Linked DNA regions of Homo sapiens: regions 1, 2, 4, 5, 6 and 7 are each linked to region 3. Evidence: promoter capture Hi-C in 16 types of primary human blood cells and fetal thymus (Javierre and others, 2016). All regions are on one chromosome and are shown on one strand. The core of a region is centred on a gene start or on the middle of the fragment in contact, and the rest is flanking DNA. Distances in the headings are between cores, read along the strand shown. Region 1 has its middle 7.7 kb from the start of RPL30. Region 2 overlaps VIRMA (vir like m6A methyltransferase associated). Region 3 holds the start of PTDSS1 (phosphatidylserine synthase 1). Region 4 overlaps MATN2 (matrilin 2). Region 5 overlaps MTDH (metadherin). Region 6 overlaps POP1 (POP1 ribonuclease P/MRP subunit). Region 7 overlaps LAPTM4B (lysosomal protein transmembrane 4 beta).

Region 1 (3,665 bases), core at 754-3,253, 1.8 Mb before region 3:
TGAGATAGAGTCTCACTCTGTCACCCAGGTTGGAGTGCAGCAGCATGATCTCACCTCACTGCAACCTCCGCCTCCCGGGTTTGAGCAATTCTCCTGCCTCAGACTCCCAAGTAGCTGGGATTACAGGCGTGCACCACCACGCCCGGCTAATTTTTGTGTTTTTGGTAGAGACTGGGTTTCACCATGCTGGCCAAGCTGGTCTTGAATTCTTGACCTTAGGTGATCCACCAACCTCAGCCTCCCAAAGTGCTGGGATTACAGGTGTGAGCCACCGCACCTGGCTGCAGAGATTTTAAAAATTGCTCAAAGTCATGCAGGTATGAAAGAGAAATGTTAACCAGGCACAGTGGGTCACACTTGTAATCCCAGAACTGCGGGAGGCTGAGGCAGGAGGACTGCTTCAGGAAGAGTTCGAAACCAGCCTGGGCAACAAAATGAGAACTCCATCTTTAAAAACAAAAAAAAAGAGAGAGAGACAGAAAGAGAAACCAAGGCCCCAAGTCTGTCTCCAAAGAGAGGTAGAATGGATTCAGTTAAGATTCCCTAGGAGGCATTCCCATTTTGTGGTCATGATTCAGACACAAAATGAGTGCTTTGGGCTTCACTGGTTTCCAGTACAAAATCATGGTAAGATCCTTGGGAGAAAGCAACTAAGTCCTTTCTTTAAAGTATAGTGAGGACACATAGTATCTTAGTCTTTTCCTGCTGCTTTAACAGAACACTTGAGACTGGTTAATTTATAAACAGAAATTTATTGGCTCACAGTTCTGGAGGCTGGGAAGCTCAATATCCAGGTGCCAGCAGGTTTGGTGATTCTTATTCTAAGATGGTGCCTGGAATGCGGCATCCTCTGCAGGTATGAATACTTCATCTTCACAAGGCAGAAGGGCAAAAGAGACTATGAACCTTCTCATGGCCCTTTTTATGGCATTAATCCATTCATCGGGGCTCTGCCCTCATGACTTAATTATCTCTTAAAGGCTCCACCTGCTAACACTCGCATTGGGGGATTAGGTTTCAACCTATAAATTTTGGAAGGAACACAAATATTCAAACCATAGCACATAATTGGGATGGGATACTTGGTATCATATAAAGAAAAGTGCCTCAGAAAAGTTACCTCATGCACTTTAATCATTTATTCTCTAAAACAGGGACAGCAACTATCCTGATTACTTTGGAGGAAAGTGAATATTTAAAAGCTTTGCGGCCAGTCACAGTGGCTCACACCTGTAATCCCAGCACTTTGGGAGGCCAAGGCAGGCAGATCACTTGAAGTCAGAAGTTCGACAGCAGCCTAACCAACATGGTGAAACCCCAACTCCGCCAAAAAATACAAAAATTAGCCGGGCATGGTGTCGAGTGCTTGTAGTCTCAGCTACTAGGGAGGCTGAGGTGGGAGAATCGCTTGAACCCGGGAGGCGGAGGCTGCAGTGAGTGAAGATCACTGCCACTGTACTCCAGCCTGGGTGACAGAGCAAGGCCCTGTCTCAAAAAAGAAAAAAAAAAAAAAAAAAAAAAAAAGCTTTGTGCTCCTTTCTCTCCTCTCCTTCTATCTCCTCCCCTAAATTAATAAATAAAAACTTTGGCACAGCAGCTCACATCTATAACCCTAGTACTTTGGGAGGTTTAAGCAGGAGGTTCAATTGGGGCCAGGAGTTCAAGACCAGCCTGGGCAACATGGTGAGCTCTCATCTCTAGAAATAATTTAAAAGTTAACTGGGCATGGTGGCATGTACCTGTGGTCCCAGCTACTCTGGAGACTGATGCAGGAGAATTGCTTGAGCCTAGGAGGTCGGGGTTGCTGTGACTGTGCCACTGCACTCCAGCCTGGATGACAGTGAGATTTGGTCTCAAAAAATAAATAAAACAAATGCTTTGAGGCAAGTTCTTGTAATCCCAGCAGTTTGGGAGGCCAAGATGGGAAGATCGCTTGAGCCTAGGAGTTCAAGACCAGCTTGGGCAATATAGTGAAACCTGTCTCTATAATAAATAAATATATATGAGAGATTAATATATATATAAGCTAGGCATGACAGCACACATCTGTAGTCCCAGCTACTCAGAAGCTGAGGTGGGAAGATCCCTTGAGCCAGGGAGGTTGTTGCAGTGAACCTTGACTGTGCCACTGTACTCCAGCCTGGGTGACAGAGCAAGACCCTGTCTCAAAAAAAAAAAAAAAAAAAAAAAAAAATAGAAAGAAAGGAAAAAAAAAAAAGCACTTTGGGAGGCTGAGACGGGTGGATCACGCGGTCAGGAGTTCAAGACCAGCCTGGCCAACATGGCAAAAAATTGTCTCTATTAAAAATACAAAAAATTAGCTGGGCGTGGTGGCGGGTGCCTGTAATCCCAGCTACTTGGGAGGCTGAGGCAAGAGAATTGCTTGAACCCGGGAGGTGGAGGTTGCAGTGAGCCAAGATTGCACCATTGTACTCCAGCCTGGGTGACAGAGCAAGACTGTCTCAAAAAAAAAAAGCTTTGAAGGTAGAACACCCCTCCCCCTCCCCCTCCCCCTCCCCTTCTCCCGCTTTCCATGGTCTCCCTCTGATGCCGAGCGGAGGCTGGTCTCTACTGCCGCCATCTCGGCTCACTGCAACCTCCCAGCCTGATTCTCCTGCCTCAGTCTGCGGAGTGCCTGGGATTGCAGGCGTGCGCCTCCACACCTGACTGGTTTTTGTATTTGTTGGTGGAGACGGGGTTTCGCCGTGTTGGCTGGGCTGGTCTCCAGCTCCTGACCGCAAGTGATCTGCCCGCCTCGGCCTCCCGAGGTGCCAGGATTGCAGACGGAGTCTCGCTCACTCAGTGCTCAATGTTGCCCAGGCTGGAGTGCAGTGGTGTGATCTCGGCTCGCTACAACCTCCACCTCCCAGCCGCCTGCCTTGGCCTCCCAAAGTGCCGAGATTGTAGCCTCTGCCCGGCCGCCACCCCGTCTAGGAAGTGAGGAGCATCTCTGCCTGGCCGCCCATCGTCTGGGATGTGGGGAGCGCCTCTGCCCTGCCGCCCCGTCTGGGATGTGAGGAGCGCCTCTGCCCAGCCGCGACCCCATCTGGGAACTGAGGAGCGTCTCTGCCCGGCCGCCACCCCGTCTGGGAGGTGAGGAGCGTCTCTGCCCGGCCGCCCCGTCTGAGAAGTGAGGAGCTCCTCTGCCCGGCAGCCGCCCCGTCTGGGAAGTGAGGAGCCCCTCCGCCCGGCAGCAGCCCCGTCTGGGAAGTGAGGAGCCCCTCCGCCCGGCAGCTGCCCCATCTGGGAGGTGGGGGGCAGCCCCCGCCCGGCCAGCCGCCCCGTCTGGGAGGTGGGGGGCGCCTCCGCCCAGCCGCCGCCCAGTCTGGGAGGTGGGGGGGCGCCTCTGCCCGGCCGCCCCGTCAGGGAAGTGAGGAGCCCCTCTGCCCAGCCGCCACCCTGTCTGGGAGGTGTACCCAACAGCTCATTGAGAACGGGCCATGGTGACGATGGCGGTTTTGTCGAATAGAAAACGGGGAAATGTGGGGAAAAGAAAGAGAGATCAGATTGTTACTGTGTCTGTGTAGAAAGAAGTAGACATAAGAGACTCCATTTTGTTCTGTACTAAGAAAAATTCTTCTGCCTTGGGATGCTGTTAATCTATAACCTTACCCCCAACCCCGTGCTCTCTGAAACATATGCTGTGTTCACTCGGGGTTAAATGG
Region 2 (3,453 bases), core at 486-2,985, 1.7 Mb after region 3:
GGCAGTAGTTGGATCAGAACAAACTTATGGTGTATAGAAATAGAGAACAGTTAAAACTGAAAGAGCCTGGCGCAGTGGCTCATGCCTGTAATCTCAACGTTTTGGGAGGCGGAAGCAGAAGGATTGCTTGAGTCCAGGAGTTTGAGACCATCCTAGGCAACACAGTGCAACCCCTGTCTCTACAAAAGAAAATTAACTAGTTGTGGTGGTTTGATCTTGTTGCCCCAGCTACTCGGGAGGCTGAAGTGGAAGGATCATTTGATCCTGGGAGTTCAAGGCTGCAGTGAGCTAAGATCACACCACTGTGCTCCAGCCTGAGCAACAGAGTGAGACCCTGTCTCGAAAGGAAGAAAGAGAAAAAGGAAAAAGAGAAAGAGGCATGTGATGAATTAGTTTAGTACTATTCTAGTTTAGGAAAATTGGCCTTCATTAGTTTATCATGTATTTCTATTCTTTTATTCATTCTTAGGTAAACATTGAATACCTTGAGAGCATAGGGCAGATGGTAAATGCTTTCTTCTGGGGTGATTGGGGAAGGCTTAGCAGAGATCACATTTAAATCAAGTCTTGAAGGAGGAAGTAGGGGTTTGTGGGTGATACGAAATATTGAAATGTTTGTTTTCAAGAAGTTATAACTCAGTATTGGAGATTAGATTCACAAAATTGTGATTTGAGTTAGAATGTGATGATCACATAAAGAAGCACAGTGTGAATTCGTTGGGGTTTATCATCTTAGTTTACAAAATGCCCATCAGTATCTGACGTATTAGAACTAGCTCCCTTTGTGGGTATAAATAAAAGATACAAGATTTCAGAAGAGGCAGAGATAACTTTTCATTTGAGTGTATCAGGAAAGACTTCATCAAGGTGTTTGGCTTATGAACTTGGTCTTTGGTGAAAGGGGCAATATTTCACAGTTGTAGTTAGGAAAGGAGGGCATTCTACTGGGGTAGTCAGTCGTCTGTTAGGGTATGCTTGAAGTAGCAGTGTGAAGTGGCACCCAAGGCAATTCAAAGACAGATCATGGAGCTCCTTGAATGCTCGACAAAGAATTACAGACTTTAGGCCAGGCGCAGTGGCTCACGCCTGTAATCCCGGCACTTTGGTGAGGCTGAGGTGGGTGGATTGCCTGACGTCAGGAGTTCGACACCAGCCTGGGTAACACAGTGAAACCCCGTCTCTACTAAAATACAAAAAATTAGCTGGGCGTGGCGGTGTGCGTCTATAGTCCCAGCTACTCGGAAGGCTGAGGCAGGAGAATTGCTAGCACCCGGGAGGAGGAGGTTGCTGTGAGCCAAGATCACGCCACTGCACTCCAGCCTGTGCGACAGAGCAAGACTCTGTCTTTTAAAATAAATAAATACATAAATAAATAAAAATTATGGACTTTATTTTGTAGGAAATGGGTAGTTTTTGAGCAGGCGAATCATACAATTAGTAAGATACATTAGATAGATTACTTGATCAATAATACTTAAAATGGTTCAGAGAAGGCCAGGCGCCGTGGCTCATGCCTGTAATCCCAGCACTTTGGGAGGCCGAGGCAAGCGGATCACGAGGTCAGGAGATCGAGACCATCCTGGCTAACATGGTGAAACCCTGTCTCTACTAAAAATACAAACAAATAGCCGAGCGTGGTGGCAGGTGCCTGTAGTCCCAGCTACTCAGGAGGCTGAGGCCGGAGAATGGCGTGAACCCGGGAGGCAGAGCTTGCAGTGAGCCGAGATTGTGCCACTGCACTCCAGCCTGGGTGACAGAGCGAGACTCCGTCTCAAAAAGAAAAAAAAAAAAAATGGTTCAGAGAAAATAGAGGTGAGGTGACAAAATCAGAGAGAAAAAGTGAGATGTTATGAAAACCTGAGTTAGCCAATGGGCAGTAAGCATTGTTTAACATTTATTGAATGCTTAATTTGTGCCAGACACAGTGGGCTTTGATAACTTAAGTAAATCATCTCTGGTCCTTCCATCAGTTTTTTTTTTTTTTTTTAAGACTAGGTCTTGCTCTGTCACCCAAGCTGGAGTGCACTGGTGCGATCACAGCTCACTGCAATTTCTCCCACCAGGGCTCAATCGATCCTTCCATCTCAGCCTCCCGAGTAGCTGGGACTACAGTTGTGCACCAACACGCCTGGCTGATTTTCATATTTTTTTGTAGAGACGGTGTTTTGCCATGTTTCCCAGGCTGGTCTTGAATTCCTGAGCTCAAGCGATTCTCCCACCTCAGCCTCCCAAAGTGCGAAGATTACAGGCGTGAGCCACTGCAGGGCCCACGCTGAGTTTTCAAAGGTAGTCATCTACATTTTATAGATAAGGAAACTGAGCCTGAGAGATGAGGTGACTTTCCTAAAATAGCATAGCTAGATTAAGATCCACCATCATACATTTTTCTGGCTCTAAGGCAGTGCTATGCTGTGTCCCAGTGGAACTACGTAGGAGAGGATTTATACAAGTTTTGGATATGTACAAATTTCGAGTATAGAATTGACAGGATGGCAACTGATTATGTGAAGGAGATAGGGTAGTTAAAAATGGTAAAATTCTAGTTTTAGAGACAGGAGAACTAGTGGGACTAATGATGGTAAGAGTGTGGAAGTGAGTTTGATGGGAACGGGATAATTAGCCAGATTAATTTGCCCCATAGGAAGTTGAGAATCTGTTTAACAATTATTTATGAAAAACACTTTTGAAGGTGAGGGTATGGCTTTAGGAGGGGCAATACAAGTCAGAACAAAGCCCATTGCCCTTGATTTCAAAGGAATTTGTAATATGGTAGAGAAGAGACATTTATTAGTTTCACACAGGGAATCTTTATTGCCAGCTGCCATTAACAGCTCTTTTTTTGGTATTGTATTTGTTTTACCAATAATTTCCTCTTCTCCACATAAACAATTGATACACATTTATAAGGCCAATCCACTGAGTTCAGAAGATAAGCAGTTAAACTTATTAAAAGACAATTTGATTGTGAGGGAATAGTGTTCCCGTGAATGAAAAAACACTTAACATTACAAATCAAGAATGCAAGATAAGCCAGGTGTGGTGGCATGTGTGCCTGTAGCCCCAGCCTGGGAGGCTGAAGTGGGAGGATCACTTGAGCCCAGGAGTTGGGAGGACAGCCTGGGCAACATAGCAAACGCGGTGGCTCATGCCTGTAATACCAGCACTTTGGGAGGCTGAGGCAGGGGGATCACGAGGTCAGGAGATTGAGACCATCCTGGCTAACCTGGTGAAACCCTGTCTCTACTAAAAATACAAAAAAAATTAGCCAGGCGTGATGGTATGCGCCTGTAGTCCCAGCTACTCAGGAGGCTGAGGTAGGAGAATGGCGTGAACCTGGGAGGTGGGACTTGCAGTGAGGCTAGATCGTGCCACTGCACTCCAGCCTGGGCGACAGAGCGAGACTCTGTCTCAAAATAAATAAATAAATAATAAAAAAATATAAAAAAGCACACT
Region 3 (3,441 bases), core at 384-2,883:
TCATTTAATTTTCATAACCCTATATAAGTAGATATTTCATCCCCATTTTACGAGTGTGGCCCCTGAGGCTCAGAGCAAGGTTATGCAACTTAATTAAGGACACACAGCCAGTTTTGAAACCAAAAGTGTGGCTCAAAAACTACTCTACTCTAAGTTGGCCTTTTAAGCCATAATGGTGAGAGAGGTGTGACTTCCCTTTCTTTAAAGAGGTTCATTCAGAAAGTATAAATCATTCTAAGTAGGAACCACGGTGTGTACCTCCTTATGAACCAAGGATGAATTAGTTCTCTAGGTTAGGAATGAGGAGCCACAGGCGCAGTGCCAGAGTTAACATGAGGTGTGTTCAAGATTTGGGCTGGGCAGCTCCTATGAACCGGTATATATTAGAATGTGTGTGTATGTTTTCCAGGGAATAAGAGAGTTGTGTTATGCTGTGTGAGGTTTATGTGTTTCATTTAACACACAGCAGTTACTATACCCCAGGCACCATTAAAATTGCTGGACAAGATCACATTTCAGCACGTATGTTAGGTAATGAGTGAGCAGGGTATGCACCGCGTGATGTGTGGCGGGCTGGTGTCTGTGCAGCCATGTACACAGATGATGGGTATTGGGCTGTGCTGGAAAGGAAAGGTCCGCTGTGAGGTGTGTGTTTAGAGTGGCAGTTTGTGCCGTGGTACAGATGGTAGTGTTTGAGGCTGGGGGAAGTGTTATGCTGGATGACTTGTGTGCAATGCATACGGGAAGTGCTGCACAGGAAAGACCGTGTATGCAGCACACATGTGCATTTTTTGTGCGTTACGGATAGTGCCGAATACCGGAGTTCCACAGGAAGGGATCTAGGTTGTGTCCTGGGCCTGTGTATGGTGCCTGCAGGCGCTGTGGATTGGGGTGCTTTGTATGTGTAGCGGTGTGTGCTGAAAGTGGTGCATACGACATGATTCATGCGGTGTGCTGGGTAGGGACGAAGGCTGGAGCAGTGCAGAGGAGGGGCCCGCGTCGTGATGTTGTGTGGAGCGATGCTGAGTGCGGTGGGTGAGGGGGCGATCGTGCTAGGTGACTCGCGTGCGTTCCCCGTGTAACCGGAGGCGCTGTATGGAGAAGGGGCACTGAGGGGTAGGGGAGCAGGCTAGCGTACTGTGAGACACCGGGCGGGCGGAGGGGCCGCGTGGGCGGCGGGCTGCCAGTGCGTGTGCGTGGAGCAGCCAGCCCACTTCCTCACCCAGAGCCATGCCGGGCCCCCCTCCCCGCCACCCTCCCTCCCGCCTCTTCCCTAGCCCTTGGACGCGCCCCCCGCTCGGCTGGGCCGCCCCACCTGGTAAAGGCGAAGTACATGAGGCTGACGATGGTGAAGCTGAGCAGGGTGATGGTATGCGGCCGGTAGAAGAAGTCAATGGTGATGTCCTCCACTTGCTGCTCGTTGATCATCCGGAAATGCATTTTGTAGTTCACATCATCCTTGCTTAGGGTCCGGCTCCCCACGCAGGACGCCATGGCCCGCCTCCCCGTCCTGCCGCGGTGGCGGCGGCCCCAGCCCGAGAAGGCCGGGACCCCGGGGGTGACTAGCCACAGTAGGCTAATAGCCGGACGGCAAAGCCGGGTCTGGCGCCCAGCAAAGGCTGGGAGCAGAGGGAAGGACAGGCGCGAGAGGGCGGGGTCGCGGCGCCGCCACCGCGGCCTGGGGCAGGGGACGCCGCCGGCCGTCCCCACGCTGTCATCCTAGCTGAGGCATCTCTACCACTCGAGGAATTTTCAGACTCCAAGTCCACAGGACTTCAGAGGAATAGCGAGCCGGAGAAGGGTAGCCGGGGCCCCTGGCTGGCTCTTTTCAGAGCACGTAGCCCGCTGTCTCCCCGCGTAACCCGGCACATGGTCTCGCCCACTCCGGGCGCGGCCCACGTGGGCCCGGGAGCGCGGCTGCGCTGTGTAGGGCGGGCTGAGGAGCCGGCGTGCGGCGCGGCGGGACGGGACGTGCGGCCCAGCGAGTTGGTCGGTCCCGGGGTCACCCGCTACGGGAAGCAGGCCTCGCCACAGGTAAAGCAGGAGCTGCCCCAGCACGAGGATCGCGCTCCTGGCGAGGGTTCAGGTTCCGGCGCACCCGCGTCCAGACCGCGCCCCAGGGCCTCAAGGGCCTTTAGGTTTTCGCGGCCCAGTAGAGGGTGATTGGTTTTGTTTTGTGTTTTTCCCTGGCTGATGTAGTGAAAACTCAACCATGCTGGCTAATTAGCGCAGTGTGAGAAGCCTCAGGAGGGGGCTCTGCCTTCCTGCGCAAGTTTGGGGAACTGAAGTGGGCTAAAATGGCCTGGGAAGTATTGAGAGACCCTTTATTAGGAAGCTGCCCCCATAACCTCCCTTTCTCTCCTGATTTCATTTATAGCATTTCGTAGGTAGAAATCTTGAACTCTATTTCAGTGCCTTTTTCTAGCGAAGCACTAGGCACTCATTGAGAACAGTATATATGAATTGTTAAGAGACTTCAGTTTCTTTAAGGGTTTTCTGTAATTTTCCTGATGAAAGGACCTTGTTAGAAGACTTCAGGTTACCACCTTACAGGGCTTTTATACACATCTGCACATCCCCTACCCGCTTTTGCATACTGTGTAAGCAAGTGAGTTAACTGTACTTGCCATTGATTTATTTCCATTCCGCAAACATTAGAGCAGTACAAGGCTCTGGGAAAGTGGAGAATAGTCCCCGGAAGGATGGATCCAGGGATGAGACCCAGCTCTGCTCTCGTGCATGAACAGTTAATCAATTGTTAAGATGTGTAGGCAGCAATGAAAGGATGTGGAGAAGATAGTGCACTTGTAAATAAAAATGCAAGGATAAACATTAGTTGTATGCACAAAGATCTTTTAATGACGGGGTGAAATTTGAAAGTGAGTCTTCCTGATGTTTAAGTGGTATTGAGTGTGGAAAGGCTTCAGGATGAATTTGGGATTTCAGGAGTTTGAAGTAGGATGAAGTGCTTAGACGTCAAAAAATGTTAGAGCTGATAGGGGCCTTAAGAATCATCTTATTGTACCCCTAGCCTTTTAAAAAAGCATTATTTGAAGAATAGTTATTGACCCCACCCCCACCCCCCACATCATGGGCTAGACTGCTGCTTTTGTTAGACTGCTGCCAGAAACAGCCTTGTCAAGGTAGCACAACCGAGGTCTTCTGACTTTCAATTTAGTGCCCTTATGACTACCGTGCAGAGAATGAATGTTGTAGGTTTGAGGGAAAACTTGGCACATTTGGAGTCCCATTTCCCACCAAAATCTAACAGAAACCACCTATCCCAGCAGGGTATTGTGAATACTTACTTCTTTTCTAAAATCATCGCAGAATGGGCCGAGCGCAGTGGCTCACGCCTGTAATCCCAGCACTTTGGGAAGCTGGGTGGATCACCTGAGGTAAGGAGTTCGAGGCCAGCCTGGCCAAGATGGTGAAACCCCG
Region 4 (3,563 bases), core at 555-3,054, 1.8 Mb before region 3:
CTAGTTGATGCACTTGAGATATCAGCCAGCTTTAGTACGCTTACTGTAATTTTAAGTTTAGAGCACTTGGCAGGGTGTTCAATATGTAAAAGCACCGAATCCTCTTTTCTTTATTATCCCCAAGCATTCCTTTTATTTAATATTGTTTAAATGAATCATTGGATCCTGCTGTTCCCTTGGTGGAGTGTTTCATTTTTTAGAGTGCCGATAGAGAAGATCTCTGCTGCCAAGGGAAAAAAAAGAAAAAACCACTCCTGTCCTCCAGAAACTAAACACACTGAATCTATATGTGGCTGTGGTGTTCCTTGGGGCTAAAGGAAAAGTTTGGAGTACTGAGTTTGAAACCTCTTCATTCTACAACATTCTTTGTCTATACTTACCGTACCTTTGATGCACTTCAGACCTCATCATGTCCTACACACCTTCCTAGCAGAGACGGAGTTAGGCCAGTGTCTCTTTTTTCCTTACTTTGTATGCTGACTGACAGGCCTTATTGCTAAGCCCCCGAGAACAGCCGATGGCAACTAAGTGCTTGACTGCTGCTAATAAGCTTGGCTTGCCCTTGCCTCTCAAACACCTGTGAGGCTGCTTTTTAAAGCAAAAAGCCTTTCCTGGAGATCACTGTTCTTTGTGACTTCGTGGGATTTACTTCAGTTGATAAAACCTACATAGAGTGTGTGAAGTTTTGATAATATTCTTTGCATTCCATACAGAAGCATAATGCAAGAAAAGGATATAGCGCTGTGTTAATTTTCTTACTTCTTCGTTTGCAAGGTTCTGGAACATTATAAGGTTTTCACATTTGCATTGATCGTGTTTTTCTTCCAAAGGGCTTCCTGAGAAAGCAGATGGAAAGTGTTCACCTCTAGAATCCACCAGACTTCCCAGACGCATAATAATAGGAATGAATCAGCATATGGAGGAAACCATAATGAAAGACATGTTCCACTTTTTCCATGCAGCCAGATCCAGTAAATACCAGGAAAGCACTGTATATGCTTCCAACACTGGAAGTGGCCCTTACTGTGGATTACTGAGGAACACTACTTGAGTTTCTTTTAGTTTATGTTTTAGTTCTCATTTTACTTAAATTCTTTCTTCTCTTTTCCTCTATACTATTTCCTACTTCCTTCTTTCCTTTCCTCCTTAAAGCTAAGGTTGTTGGCAAGCCGAAAGGCTGAGATCAAGTTATCTTATAGTAATATTTTACTTGGAATTACCTGAAGGTTTTGTTGAATGGGAAAGCTTTTGTGTAGACCGTAAAAGATTGTCTTCTTCAAACAGATATCTGTGTTGCACTGCAAAATTAGAACAGGAAAGTAGGTCTTGGATATTTATGGTGACTGGCTCAGATTCTGTAAAGAGAAAGAAAACTGCAATCAAACCTGCTTAACGCTTTTGGTTATAAAACAGCCATCAGCAGAGTAAGGTACTTGGTATTCCTAGCACTTGGTACAGAGCTTTACTTTGGGACATACTGAAGCAAAAAGACTGTTATCTTCAGTGGAGTAAACATCTTTATTAAAAAAACAAAAAACAACAACAACAAAAAACAAAACAAAAACAGCCGGGCACAGTGGCTCATGTCTGTAATCCCAGCACTTTGGGAGGCCAAGGTGGGTGGATCGCTTGAGGTCAGGAGTTCAAGACCAGCCTGGCCAACATGGTAAAACCCCGTCTCTACTAAAAATACAAAAATTAGCTGGGCATGGTGGTGGGTGCCTGTAATTCCAGCTACTCGGGAGGCTGGGGCAGGAGAATCACTTGAGCCCAGGAGGTGGAGGTTGCAGTGAGCTGAAATCGTACCACTGCACTCCAGCCTGGGCAACAGAATGAAACTGTCTCAAAAAAACAACAACAACAAAAACAAAAACAAAAAAACACTGTCACCTGAAACGATGCTAGTTACCAAATATGGCTTAATGTAAGAGTAAATGTTAACTATCTTTTTGAGGGAAAAAAGGCCTTCATTATCATAATTTGAACATACTTACATTCACTTCTTTACAGCTTTTATCTGGAGGGAAACCATGGTTCCCTCCACCAAAATTTCTAAAAACACTGCCTTAAAAACTGTACCTGTTGGCTGTTGGACCGTTTTTGGCAGTTCCCCTGCTGGAGAGTCCTGTCTTCCATCGGAGTCTTCTAGAGCTGAGCAGAAAAAGATGACCAAAAGAAGTGATGGTTGTCCACAGGCATGTGTGTGTTCTTCAGGAAGCTGGTCCCAGACCACCTCCTTACCTACCTGCCATAACCTAAGGTTTTTTAGTTTTGTTTGGTAACACCAAAGATTCAAAAAAGCAGTTGGTTACCATGATACTTATGACCACTCTAGGGCAATTCTCTCTCGTAAGAGAAGCTTGGACCCCCTAAGTACATCTTAAGAATGCTCCCAAAAATGTCATGTCTAGAAAGTAGGGCAGAAAAAAAAGGTGAAGTTGTTGAGGGATTTTAGTTGCAGTGGCAGCAGCTCCACTTGAGGCATTTTAACTTGCATGAAACAATCAAGAGGCAAAACATTCTCTACTCAGAAATCTGAAAGGCCTTCCCTCCCTGTTACCCCTCATCTCAAGAGTTCTTTCCCTAGAGGGGTAAGACACAGCACTTAGACTGGGATCTAACTGGTGAGCCGGGGACATGAGTACAAGGAAAAATAGGCAGAACTGCTATCTGTAAGCATATCTGGCACAGTTAGTAAACTGGAGAAAAGCATGCATAACAAAATCTGAAGTCTAAAGGGCAGTCTGATATTCTGTAAACAAGTAGTCCATGCAGAAAGGCATTAATTTTAACAGTGGGCTTGGAAGAACTAGGTACGCCCCTTTCCACTCCAATTATAGGTATATTCTGAAATTGCACTTCAGCTCTCCTGATTTATATAATGATTGATTTTTAGTTAAATGATCATTTCTCTAGGGTGTTTGTGAGGATGAAGCATGCTGGTGTGTCAAAACACTTATTATACTGCTTGGCACAGAGCAAGGGCGCAAACAATGGTAGCTATTACTTTTTTCTTTCCCACCTCCCCTGTTTCCCCCACCTTTTTTTTTTCTTTTTTTGAGACAGGGTCTTGCTTTGTCACCCAGGTTGGAGTGCAGTGGCGCAATCATGGCTCACTGAAGCCGTGACCTCCAGGGCTCAAACGATCCTCCCCGCTCAGTCTCCCAAGTAGCTGAGACTACAGGTGTGTGCCATCATGCCTAGCTAATTGTTAAATTTTTTTTCAGAGACAGGGTTTCACTTTGTTGCCTAAACTGGTCTTGAACTCCTGGGCTCGAGCAATCCTCCCACCGCAGCCTCCCAAAATGGTTGGGTTACAGGTGGGAACCATGGTGCCCAGCCCTTCTTTTTGTACTGTTTCTAGGCATTGCTGGCCCTGCCCATGAAGGAGACACTTTTTTTTGGTTGAGAATTTATCACTAAAGGTTCATGCTGGCCGGACACGGTGGCTCACGCCTGTAATCCCAGCACTTTGGGAGGCTGTGGTGGCTGGATCACTTGAGGTCAGGAGTTCGAGACCAGCCTGGCCAACATGGTGAAACCTCATCTCTACTAAAAATACA
Region 5 (3,634 bases), core at 1,015-3,514, 1.5 Mb before region 3:
GTGGTGGTGTATACATGTAGTCCCAGTTACTCAGGAGGCTGAGCAGGGAGGACTACTTGAGCCTGAGAGATGGAGGCTGCAGTAGACTGTGATCACACCACTGTACTCCAGGCTGGGTGATTCTGTCTCAAAGAAAAAAAAAAAACCCAAAACTACAAAACTACAAAAATTAGCCAGGCATGGTGGTGCATGCCTTTAATCCCAGCTACTCAGGAGGAGGTATGAGAATTGCTTGAGCCTGGGAGGTGAAGGTTGCAGTGAGCCGAGATCGCACCATTGCACTCCAGCCTGGGCAACAGAGGAAAACTCTGTCTCACAAAAAAAAAACAAAAAAAACAAAAACAAAAACAAAAAAAAACCCACAAAAAACACTTCACTTAACAACTTCAAGGAATAAAATGTTTATACATAAGTTAATTTTCTAGATAAATTAAGCTTACATAGTAGAAAGGGTATAGACAGAAAATTCCAATTTTGGCCATGCCACAGTCTAGCTACAAAATCTCAGGGATAGATTTGGCAGTGGCTCACGCCTGTAATCCCAGCACTTTGGGAGGCTGAGGCAGGCAGATCACCTGAGGTCAGGAGTTCGAGACCAGCCTGGCCAACATGGTGAAACGCTGTCTGTAATAAAAATACAAAAATTAGCTGGGTGTGGTGGCGCACGCCTGTAATCCCAGCTATTTGGGAGGCTGAGGCATGACAATTACTTGAACCTGGAAGGCGGAGGTTGCAGATCTCGCCACTGCACTCCAGCCTGGGCAACATGGTGAAACCCTATCTCTACTAAAAATACAAAAATTAGGCCGGGTGCTGTGGCTCATGCCTGTAATCCCAGCACTTTGGGAGGCTGAGGTGGGTGGATCACTTGAGGTCAGGAGTTCAAGACCAGTCTGGCCAACATGGTGAAACCCTGTTTCTACTAAAAATACAAAAATTATCTGGTAATGGTGGTACACATCTGTAATCCCAGCTACTTGGGAGGCTGATACATGATAGTTGCTTGAACCTGGGAGATGAAGGTTGCAGTGAGCCAAGATCGTGCCACTGCACTCCAGCCTGGGTGACAGAGTGAGACCTTGTCTCAAAAACAAACAAACAAACAAACAATCTCAGGGACAAGTCACTTAGTTTCCCTAAGCCTGTTTCCTCAACTGTAAAGTAAAATTTGCCCTAATAATTTCTAAAAACTCACATAAGCTTTAAGATTTCCATTTTTGGGGGGGGGGGGATAAAAATTTATTATACATAAAGAATATCACCACTAACAAACGCAGACAGGCTAGGACACCATGGTACAGGGTGGAGGATGGCTAGCTCTTTGGAAAGTGAAAGGTTTGGGTGGCGTGGGCCTCATGCCACTCTGATTAGTCAGGAGACAGGAGGGCACATGCCAAACACCACAGGACATCAGGGCAGCAAGATTTCCATTCTTAGACTTTCAAACTTTTATGAAGTTTCAGCAAAATAATTCTAGAGCACATTATATGCTTAGTAAATTATATGTAAAGTAAACATGAACTAGAATATATTAAATAGAAGGATTACTGTATTTTTCTTTGGCAAATGCATCCATATAAAATGGCCGTTCTTTTTAACAAATGGCTAAGATGATCTTAATGTTCTTCTGACACTGATGTTCTATTTTATGATAGTTATTCAGTATAGTAGTGGGTTTAGATAGTCAAAATTTTCTATATATTTAGGCTGAGCAGGTAGCTTTGGAAGTATGTGGGTGAAGTCTGTAATCTTACAAAGTTTTTCAAAGTTTTGCAATCTTACAAAGTCAGAAGACATCAATTTATTTCCATCCCAAGTTGAACTCAACAGTGAAAGACCCCATCAGCCACACACGAACACCAAAAAGGACTTTGGGTTTGGTGCGGTAGCTTGCATCTGTAATCCCAGCACTTTGGGAGCCAAGGCAGGAGGACTGTTTGAGCCCAGGAGTTTGGGATAGCCTGGGTAACATAGGGAAACTCTGTCTCTACAAAAAAATAAAAAAACTGTAGTCCTAGTTACTTGGGAGGCTGAAGCAGGAGGATCCCTTCAGCCCAGGAGGTTGAGGCTGCAGTGAGCTGTGATGGAGCCACTGCATTCCAGCCTGACCACAGAGTGGAATGTCTCAAAAAACAAACAAACAAAACAAAACAAAAAGAGAAAAAACAATATAATTTTTTTTTTTGAGACAGTCTCACTCTGTTGTCCAGGCTGGAGTGTAGTGGCACAATCTTGGCTCACTGCAACCTGCGATTCTCCTGCCTCAACTTCACAAGTAGCTGGGACTACAGGCGCCAGCTACCACGTGCGGCTAATTTTTGTATTTTCAGTAGAGACGGGGTTTCACCATGTTGGCCAGGATGGTCTCAAACTCCTGACCTTGTGATCCACCCGCCTCGGCCTCACAGGTGCTGGGATTACAGGCATGAGCCACCGCACCCGGCCTAACTTTTTTTTTCTTTCTTTTAAGATGGAGTTTCACTCTTGTTGCCCAGGCTGGAGTGCAATGGCATGATCTTGGCTCACCGCAACCTCCGCCTCCCGGGTTCAAGTGATTCTCCTACCTCAGCCTCCCGAGTAGCTGGGATTACAGGTGCATGCAACCATGCCCGGTTAATGCTGTATTTTTAGTAGAGACAGGGTTTCTCCATGTTGGTCAGGTTGGTCTCGAACTCCCGACCTCAGGTGATCCACCCGCCGTGGCCTCCCAAAGTGCTGGGATTATAGGCGTGAGCCACCGCGCCCAGCCATAACCTTTTATTAATAGGATATATGTGCTATGTACTCAGCATAGAACTTCATGGATATCAAATTCTCAAAACAACCTATGCAATTATGTAACTTGTGCAAGGTAAAAAAAAAAAATGACAGAACAAGATTCAGAATATAGATCTGACTCTAAACCTAGAATACTTATTCATTATATTTTTAAAAACACAGTGAACATTTTTAAAAGGATAATCAGAATGCCAAAGAAACAGTCACATGTTAATGACCTTTGCCAATACGTTAAACATTTCAGAATACATCTATCCTACAAAATTTATTTTAAAAGGAGCTCCACTAATCCACAATCCACTAAATCATTATTAGTAAATACTCAAAGTCAAAGAAATTCAAGAAAAACTTGGCTAAAATGGTTTTCAGGTAGTATTACTAACAAAGGATAGATGTAACATTTCTCATCTACCAGCTCCAGCTAACAAGAAAAGCATACCTATTATAGAGTGTTAGTTTGTTCATATCCACTGATCTTAGCTATGTTACAACCTTAATGCCCATTCATTTTGACTACTGAAAAAGCAAGCAAGTATTGATAATAAGCTTGTATCATTTATGAGGGTTTGTGCTTCCCACAATAAAAAATAACTGAATACATATTTCCTTAAAAAGCCATGTAGAAACTTCTTTCAAAAACAGTAAGTGGCTGGGCGTGGTGGCTCACACCTGTAATCCCAGCACTTTGGGAGGCTGAGGCAGGAAGATCACTCGAGGCCAGATCACTTGAGACCAGCCTGGCCAACATGGTGAAATCCCCTCTCTACTAAAAATGCAAAAATTAGCTGGGTGTGGTGGCTCATGCCTGTAATCCCAGCTACTTGGAAGGCTCAGGCAGGAGAATCACTTGAACCTG
Region 6 (3,372 bases), core at 540-3,039, 1.9 Mb before region 3:
GACCCTATTAGTATATTGCAGTTTGCACTGTCAAATAATTAAATCATATACAACTGTTGATACCACATAAAGTCTGTTAGAAGAATGAAAAATGAGATAAGATTGCTATGGATGATAAAAAATTAATTAGTTCAAATACTTTACCTTGATTATTAGATGAAATAAGAGCCACCTGAATCAATGAAATACAGAACACCCTATTCCAAAAGGAGAAACTCTATTAAAAACAACACAAATTACTGACGCTTTCATTTCTACTACTCAGATGATGCCAGCTATATATTTAATTTATAATAGCAATAGATAATGATTTCAATTTGAAGCAAGATAAAGGACAAAAACAGTGGGACCCCGACTGATTTACCAGTCAGTAGTTCCCAACTCTCAAACTCAACATCCCCTATTTTTACTGATTCAGTTTGAAGCAGCTGTTCTCTATTTTTAAATGAAATGAATGTTATAACCTATTAGACACATATCGAGACATACCCTACAATAGATGCCCTAAATGTAACATAAAGGAGACCTAAGAAGTAATTTTAATAAAATAATATGTATTTCTGTATGTAACTATTTCACCACAACTACACTAGATGATATTATGAATAGATTTTGAACCCAGGGAATAATAACATCCACACAGGCACCAGCACAGGCATTGGCACAATCCATAAAGCTGGATGGTCCTGGAAGCCCTTCAACCCCAAGGTACCAGTGATTAACTCTTTCATTGCTAACTGCAGGAAATCCGAAGGGCCCTATACATGGACACACTAGGAGGTAGGGAAGCTCAGAGCAGCTGGTATTTACCAAGCTGTTCTCAAAGCAGTTCAGTATTTTAATACCAGTCTTTACTTCTACCTATACATAAAATTACCATGAATTCAACAGCTACAAAGGCAAAGCAGCACAGGTGTGTTGTACCAGTGCCTCAAAGAGAAGGTAGCAATGCCACTAATGACGTAATTTTCCAAATTGGTCAACACTCCTTAGTAAACTACCCCCACCCCCGCCACCCTGCCAAAAAAAGTACAAACTTGCTTTGATTTACTGCATTACTGGAAAATTCAGTGCATATTAAAACGGTGTAACCAGGCCAGGTGCGGTGGCTCATGCCTATAATCACAGCAGTTAGGGAGGCTGAGGCAGGCGAATCACTTGAGGTCAGGAGTCCGAGACCAACCTGGCCACCATGGCGAAACCCCATCTCTACTAGAAATACAAAAATTAGTTGGGTGGGCCGGGCGTGGTGGCTCACGCCTGTAATTCCAGCGCTTTGGGAGGCTGAGGCGGGCGGATCATGAGGTCAGGAGATCGAGACCATCTTGGCTAACACAGTGAAACCCCGTCTCTACTAAAAAAATACAAAAAAATTAGCCAGGCATGGTGGCGGGCGCCTGTAGTCGCAGCTACTCAGGAGGCTGAGGCAGGAGAATGGTGTGAACCCAGAAGGTGGAGCTTACAGTGAGCCCAGATCGTGCCACTGCACTCCAGCCTGGGCAACAGAGCAAGACTCCATCTCAAAAAAAAAAAAAAAATTAGTTGGGTGCAGTGGCGCGCACCTGTAGTCCCAGCTATTCGGGAGGCTGCGACAGGAGAATCGCTTGAACCCAGGAGGTGGAGGTTGCATTGAGCCGAGATGATCACACCACTGCACTCCAAGTTGGGCAATAGAGCAAGTCTCCATCTCAAAAAAAAAAAAAAAAAAAACCCGTGTAACCAATAATTTTATATAAATTAGGTACTGGGCTACTGTGGGGCTTTTCTGCACATAGCAGGCTGTCTAATATCCCTGGTCCCTGCCCAATAAATGCCAGCAATGTTAGCCCAATTATGCCAACCAAAACACCTACACAAACTTCCAAAATGCCAGCCACATCAGAATTTGCCCACTTCCACTGAGAGCCACTAAATTACCCCCCATTCACTTACTTCCTTTTCCAATGCAAGACCTCACACAAAATTAAGACTTGCCTATATGGTATAGTGTTTAAGGGCTTTCACTATGGAGTTTGAAAGATGTGGGTTCAAATTCCTTCTTTACACTTTTTAGTTACATAATCTTAGGAAAATTACTTTCTCACTTTCAGCCTCAGCCTCTTCCTCTACAAGTTGCTGTGAGAATTAAACATTATATACAGGCCAGGTGGGATGGCTTATGCCTGTAATCCCAGCACTATGGGAGGCCAAGGCGAGTGGATCACTTGAGGCCAGGAGTTCAAGACCAGCCTGGCAAACATGGTGAAATCCCATCTCTACTAAAAAATACAAAAATGAGGCCGGGAGCGGTGGTTCACGCCTGTAATCCCAGCACTTTGGAAGGCCGAGGCAGAAGGATCACAAGGTCAGGAGATCAAGACCATCCTGGCTAACACAGTGAAACCCCGTCTCTACTAAAAATACAAAAAATTAGCCGGGCGTGTTGGCGGGCGCCTGTAGTCCCAGCTACTCGGGAGGCTGAGGCAGGAGAATGGCGTGAACCCGGTAGGCGGAGCTTCCAGTGAGCCGAGATCGCGCCACTGCACTCCAGCCTGGGCGACGGAGCAAGACTCCGTCTCAAGAAAAAAAAAAAAAAATACAAAAATGAGCCACGTGTGATGGCATGCGCTTGTAATCCCAGCTGCTCGGGAGGCTGAGGCACGAGAATCCTTTGAACCCAGGAGGCGGAGATTGTGGTGAGCCGAGATCACGCCACTGCACTCCAGCCTGGGCGATAGAGTGAGACTCTGTCTCAAAATAAAAAAATGAACAAACATATACATACTGTACATGGTTTTGGCTTTGCAAAATGCATATACACAACTCACTTAGCATGGGGCTTTATGCTAACTAAATGCTCAGTTTATGGTAGCTATTATTCTTAAATAATAAATGAAATAGCAGGGATTGATGCCATTTCACTGTCTCACTCCACTAATTTCAACTAAATGAAAGACAGCTATATCTACATGCAAAAACATTTTTCAAATTAAACAGTATGAAGGAAGTAAATGGAGTTCTGCAGAACTGGCTGGCTAGTGAAGCACATGATTCAGATCGGTCTGCATTAAAAGCCATTCCAAATATTTTACAAAACAACTTAGTTAACCTACTGTTACCTGCTTGAATCAGAACTCACCAGCAAGGCTAGACAAGAACACCATAGAAACTCTAGCTCCCCTCAGTATTAGAATGGTCCAAGAAAAGGTTGGTGCTGGAGGATTAGGATAACCTTGGGAACATCCCTGAGCTTTGGGTCCAGACTAAAATATGAGGAAATCAAACTGGCAGTGGTCCTCTAACAGCAGAAGGGAATGAATATAGGATGCATCTTTATGAAGTCTGAGGATTTAATTTAAAAGTTTCCAGAGGCCTGGTGTGGTGGTTCACATC
Region 7 (3,855 bases), core at 758-3,257, 1.5 Mb before region 3:
ACCTTCAAAGGTGTCAGACTCTCAATCTCTCGGTTAATCTTTCCAAGGTCTGAACATGGGGGATGGGGTGGGGAGGTGTGCTCAGAGAAAGCCTGGCTGTTTATTTCACTAATGCAGATTTTCCCTAAAGATGCAAATCTCCACAAACAGCAGCTTTTCAGAGCTATTCTTGTTTGCAGTTTCTCTAATACTATCTTGAAATATACCAAAGAGGTATATTTTGGGTGAGATATTCTGGTTTCCTTTACTTGAGTAAACAAGGAAACTGTGAGTTTCTATGTGAACAAGTGGATTCTTTGAAAGACCAGGTCTGCACTTGTATCCCAGAACTTAAAGTATAATTAAAAAACAAAAGAAAAAGAAAGAAAGAAAATTAAAAAGAAAGACCAGGTCATAAAGCCAATGAAGCAGCTACTCTGACCTCTTTTATCCTTTATAATCTGATATATGGCTAACTACCCTGTGAACAGTGTCTGGCACAGAGGCATTTGGTATGTATTTGCTGTGTCTAAGTTCCTAAAAAATAACTGAACAAGGATATTTAAAAAAAAAAAAAAAAAAAGGCCGGGCGCGGTGGCTCACACTTGTAATCCCAACACTTTGGGAGGCCAAGGCGGGCAGATCACCTGAGGTCGGGAGTTTGAGACCAGCTTGACTAACATGGAGAAACCCCGTCTCTACTAAAAAATAAATAAATAAATAAATAAATAAATAAATAAATAAATAAAATACAAAATTAGCCAGGTATGGTGGTGCATGCCTGCAATCCCAGCTACTTTGGAGGCTGAAGCAGGAGAATCACTTGAACCCAAGAGGCGGAGGCTGCAGTGAGCCGAGACTGCACCACTGCACTCCAGCCTGGGCAACAAGAGCGAGACTCCGTCTCAGAAAAAAAAAAAGGCTGGGGACGGTGGCTCACGCCCGTAATCCCAGCACTTTGGGAGGCCGAAGCAGGTGGATCAGGAGGTCAGGAGTTCGAGACAAGCCTGACCAACATGGTGAAACCCCGTCTCTACCAAAAATAAAAAATTAGCCAGGGATGGTGGCGCATGCCTGTAGTACCAGCTACTCAGGAGACTGAGGCAGGAGAATCGCTTGAACCCGGGAGGCAGACGTTGCAGTGAGCTGAGACTGCGCCACTGCACTCCAGCCTGGACAACAGAGTGAGGCTCTGTCTCAAAAACAAAAGCCTGGAGTGGTGTGGAGTGGTGGTGTGAGCCTGTAGTCCCAGCTACTTGGGAGGCTGAAATGGCAAGGCTGCTTGAGCCAGGGAAGACAAGGCTGCATTGAGCCACTCCAGCCTGGGCAATAGAGTGAGATCTTGTCACAAAAAAAAAAAAAAAAAAAAAAAAAAAGCTGGGCATGGTGGCTCAGGCCTGTAATCCCAGCACTTTGGGAGGCTGAGGGGAGCAGATCACCAGAGGTCGGGAGTTCGAGACCAGCCTGACCAACATGGAGAAATCCTGTTATCTACTAAAAATACAAAATTAAACAGGTGTGGTGGCGCATGCCTGTAATCCCAGCTACTAGGGAGGCTGAGGCAGGAGAATTGCTTGAACCTGGGAGTCGGAGGTTGCGGTGAGCCGAGATCGCACCATTGCACTCCAGCCTGGGCAACAAGAGCTAAACTCTGTCTCAAAAAAAAAAAAAAAAGTCCCCAAAGTCTTGTGCAAGAATGTTCAGTGCAGCTTTATTTATAATAGCCCCAAATTGGAAATAACCCAAATGTCCAATATCTGGCAAATGGATAAACAAATTGTGGTATATTAATACAATAAAAACAATACTCAGCAATAAAAAGCAACACTCCAAGAAGATGAATGAATCTAAAAGAAGTTATGCTAAGTGAAAGAAGCTAGATACAGAAGGGTACACACAGCATAATTCCATTTTACATGAATAAGCAAAACTTACCTACAGTGATTGGGGATATGGCAGGGATTAACTGGGAAACAGCACAAGGGAACTTGCTGAAAGTTTGGAAATGTTCTCAAGGAATGTGGGTTACATTACAGAGGCATTTGTCAACTCAATAAACTACATTTAACTGTGAATTTTGCCGGGCACGGTGGCTCACGCCTGTAATCCCAGCACTGTGGGAGGCCGAGGCGGGCGGATCACCTGAGGTCAGGAGTTCAAGACCAGCCTGGCCAACATAATGAAACCCTGTCTCTACTAGGAAAACAAAAATTAGCCAAGCGCAGTGGTGGGTGCCTGTAATACCAGCTACTTGGGAGGCTGAGGCAGGAATCACTTGAACCCAGGAGGCGAAGGTTGCAGTGAGCTGAGATTGCACCACTGCACTTCGGCCTGAGCAATAAGAGCAAAACTCCTCAAAAAAAAAAAAAAAAAAAAAGGCCGGGCACAGTGGCTCACGCCTGTAATCTCAGCACTTTGGGAGGCCAAGGCGGATGGATCACAAGGTCAGGAGTTCAAGACCAGCCTGAACAACATGGGGAAACCCCATCTCTACTAAAAATACAAAAATTAGCCCGGAGCTCACCTGTAATCCCAGCTACTCAGGAGGCTGAGCAGGAGAATCGCTTGAACCCAGGAGGCGGAGGTTGTGGTGAGCCGAGATCACGCCACTGCACTCCAGCCTGGGCGTCAGAGCGAGACTCGGTCTCAAAAAAAAAAAATTGTAGTACATAAATCACAACTCAATAAAAGAAAAAAAAAGAGACAAACAAAAAATGATCTCTAGAATAAATACCTGAAGTCTCCCAAAGTTAGCGTGGCCCAGAATTTTAAAAATAGTAATAATAATAATAAATACCTGAAGTCAATATACTTTACTTCAGGACTGAAGGAAAACTTTTATTATTCCAAGACAAAACCAAAACACATGCACAACTTTTAAAAGTAAAACAGTGGAAACAGAACAGATTAAAACATCACTCAGATCATAAACCAACCATGGGATTTTAAGCTCTCAAGTAAATCACCAAAGTTCTCTAAGCCTCAGTTTTCTCATCTGTAAAATGGGAATAAGAAAATCTACCTCACCAGGAATATGTAAAAATTAACCTTATGCAAAGTATCTAGTAAAGTACATGACACTTGGAGCCTTAGTAAACGGTATTGGTAGGAATCAACAATAAGAAAACATATAAAAAAGATCCACTTTACCTATCTTGCAAAACAGGAAATTACTTAAATGAGCCCTTATTGTGGACTCTTACTTTTTGTTTTATTTATTTATTTATTTTGAGACAGAGTTTCGCTTTTGTTGCCCAAGCTGGAGTGCAATCGCACGATCTCAGCTCACTGCAACCTCCGCCTCCTGGGTTCAAATGATTCTTCTCTCAGCTTCCCAAGTAGCTGGGGTTACAGGCACGTGCCACCACGCCCCACTAATTTTTTATATTTTTAATAGAAACAGGGTTTCATCATGTTAGCCAGGCTGGTCTCAAAACTCCTGACCTCAGGTGATCCACCCGCCTCAGTCTCCGAAAGTGCTGGGATTACAGGTATGAGCCACCGTACCCGGCCTGGACTCTTATTTAAATATCTGCCTTGTCTGAAAACTCTCCGCTTTATTATTATTATTCTTTATTTTACTTTTCTTTTTTTTTTTTTTTTTTGAGACAGAGTCTCACTCTGTTGCCCAAGCTGGAGTGCAGTGGCGTGATCTCGGCTCACGGCAACCTCTGCCACCTGGGTTCAAGGGATTCTCCTGCCTCTGCCTCCCCAGCAGCTGAGATTACAGGTGCCTGCCACTGCGCCCGACTAATTTTGTAGTTTTAGTAGAGATGAGGTTTCACCACCTTGGCCAGACTGGTTTTGAACTCCTGACCTCAAGATCCACTCACCTCGGCCTCCCAAAGTGCTGGGATTATAGGCGTGAGCCACCCA

The links. The method cuts DNA at HindIII sites, captures the fragments that hold promoters and counts their contacts. A CHiCAGO score of 5 or more calls a contact.
Region 1: a contact is called between a fragment that was not itself captured here and the fragment with the promoter of PTDSS1 in region 3, in 1 of 17 cell types (fetal thymus). The highest score is 5.5, in fetal thymus.
Region 2: a fragment that was not itself captured here is called in contact with the fragment with the promoter of PTDSS1 in region 3 in 2 of 17 cell types (total B cells and total CD8 T cells); the score reaches 5.3 in total B cells.
Region 4: a fragment that was not itself captured here is called in contact with the fragment with the promoter of PTDSS1 in region 3 in 8 of 17 cell types (naive CD4 T cells, non-activated CD4 T cells, fetal thymus and 5 more); the score reaches 9.0 in naive CD4 T cells.
Region 5: a contact is called between a fragment that was not itself captured here and the fragment with the promoter of PTDSS1 in region 3, in 1 of 17 cell types (total B cells). The highest score is 5.9, in total B cells.
Region 6: a fragment that was not itself captured here is called in contact with the fragment with the promoter of PTDSS1 in region 3 in 7 of 17 cell types (naive CD4 T cells, non-activated CD4 T cells, activated CD4 T cells and 4 more); the score reaches 10.5 in naive CD4 T cells.
Region 7: a fragment that was not itself captured here is called in contact with the fragment with the promoter of PTDSS1 in region 3 in 1 of 17 cell types (activated CD4 T cells); the score reaches 8.6 in activated CD4 T cells.

The regions. Positions count from the first base shown.
Region 1 is chr8:98,051,374-98,055,038 of GRCh38, reverse strand. No RefSeq gene overlaps it. Among named protein-coding and RNA genes, the nearest start is that of RPL30, 7.7 kb to the right of the region's middle. The HindIII fragment of the contact is 951 bases long and covers 1,528-2,478 here.
Region 2 is chr8:94,548,631-94,552,083 of GRCh38, reverse strand. The region is part of intron 1 of VIRMA (vir like m6A methyltransferase associated); the gene reads left to right. Among named protein-coding and RNA genes, the nearest start is that of VIRMA, 3.1 kb to the left of the region's middle. The HindIII fragment of the contact is 4,218 bases long and covers 1-3,453 here.
Region 3 is chr8:96,260,094-96,263,534 of GRCh38, reverse strand. PTDSS1 (phosphatidylserine synthase 1) reads right to left here and starts at 1,633. Exons shown (of 13, transcript NM_014754.3): 1 at 1,316-1,633. The coding sequence starts at 1,494. MTERF3 (mitochondrial transcription termination factor 3) reads left to right here and starts at 1,925. Exons shown (of 8, transcript NM_015942.5): 1 at 1,925-2,034. RefSeq lists enhancers at 708-947, 1,093-1,785, 2,268-2,327, 2,479-3,172 and silencers at 1,098-1,277, 1,328-1,697, 1,878-2,027, 1,780-2,104. The HindIII fragment of the contact is 8,922 bases long and covers 1-3,441 here.
Region 4 is chr8:98,030,834-98,034,396 of GRCh38, reverse strand. MATN2 (matrilin 2) reads right to left here. Exons shown (of 19, transcript NM_002380.5): 16 at 2,080-2,151; 17 at 1,221-1,355; 18 at 738-836. Among named protein-coding and RNA genes, the nearest start is that of SNORA72, 9.6 kb to the left of the region's middle. RefSeq lists an enhancer at 657-1,856. The HindIII fragment of the contact is 1,114 bases long and covers 1,248-2,361 here.
Region 5 is chr8:97,715,220-97,718,853 of GRCh38, reverse strand. The region is part of intron 9 of MTDH (metadherin); the gene reads right to left. Among named protein-coding and RNA genes, the nearest start is that of LAPTM4B, 59 kb to the left of the region's middle. The HindIII fragment of the contact is 2,124 bases long and covers 1,203-3,326 here.
Region 6 is chr8:98,119,851-98,123,222 of GRCh38, reverse strand. All of the region lies in intron 1 of POP1 (POP1 ribonuclease P/MRP subunit), which reads right to left. Among named protein-coding and RNA genes, the nearest start is that of POP1, 4.2 kb to the right of the region's middle. The HindIII fragment of the contact is 5,033 bases long and covers 1-3,372 here.
Region 7 is chr8:97,779,780-97,783,634 of GRCh38, reverse strand. All of the region lies in intron 1 of LAPTM4B (lysosomal protein transmembrane 4 beta), which reads right to left. Among named protein-coding and RNA genes, the nearest start is that of LAPTM4B, 5.9 kb to the right of the region's middle. RefSeq lists an enhancer at 615-1,123. The HindIII fragment of the contact is 6,902 bases long and covers 1-3,855 here.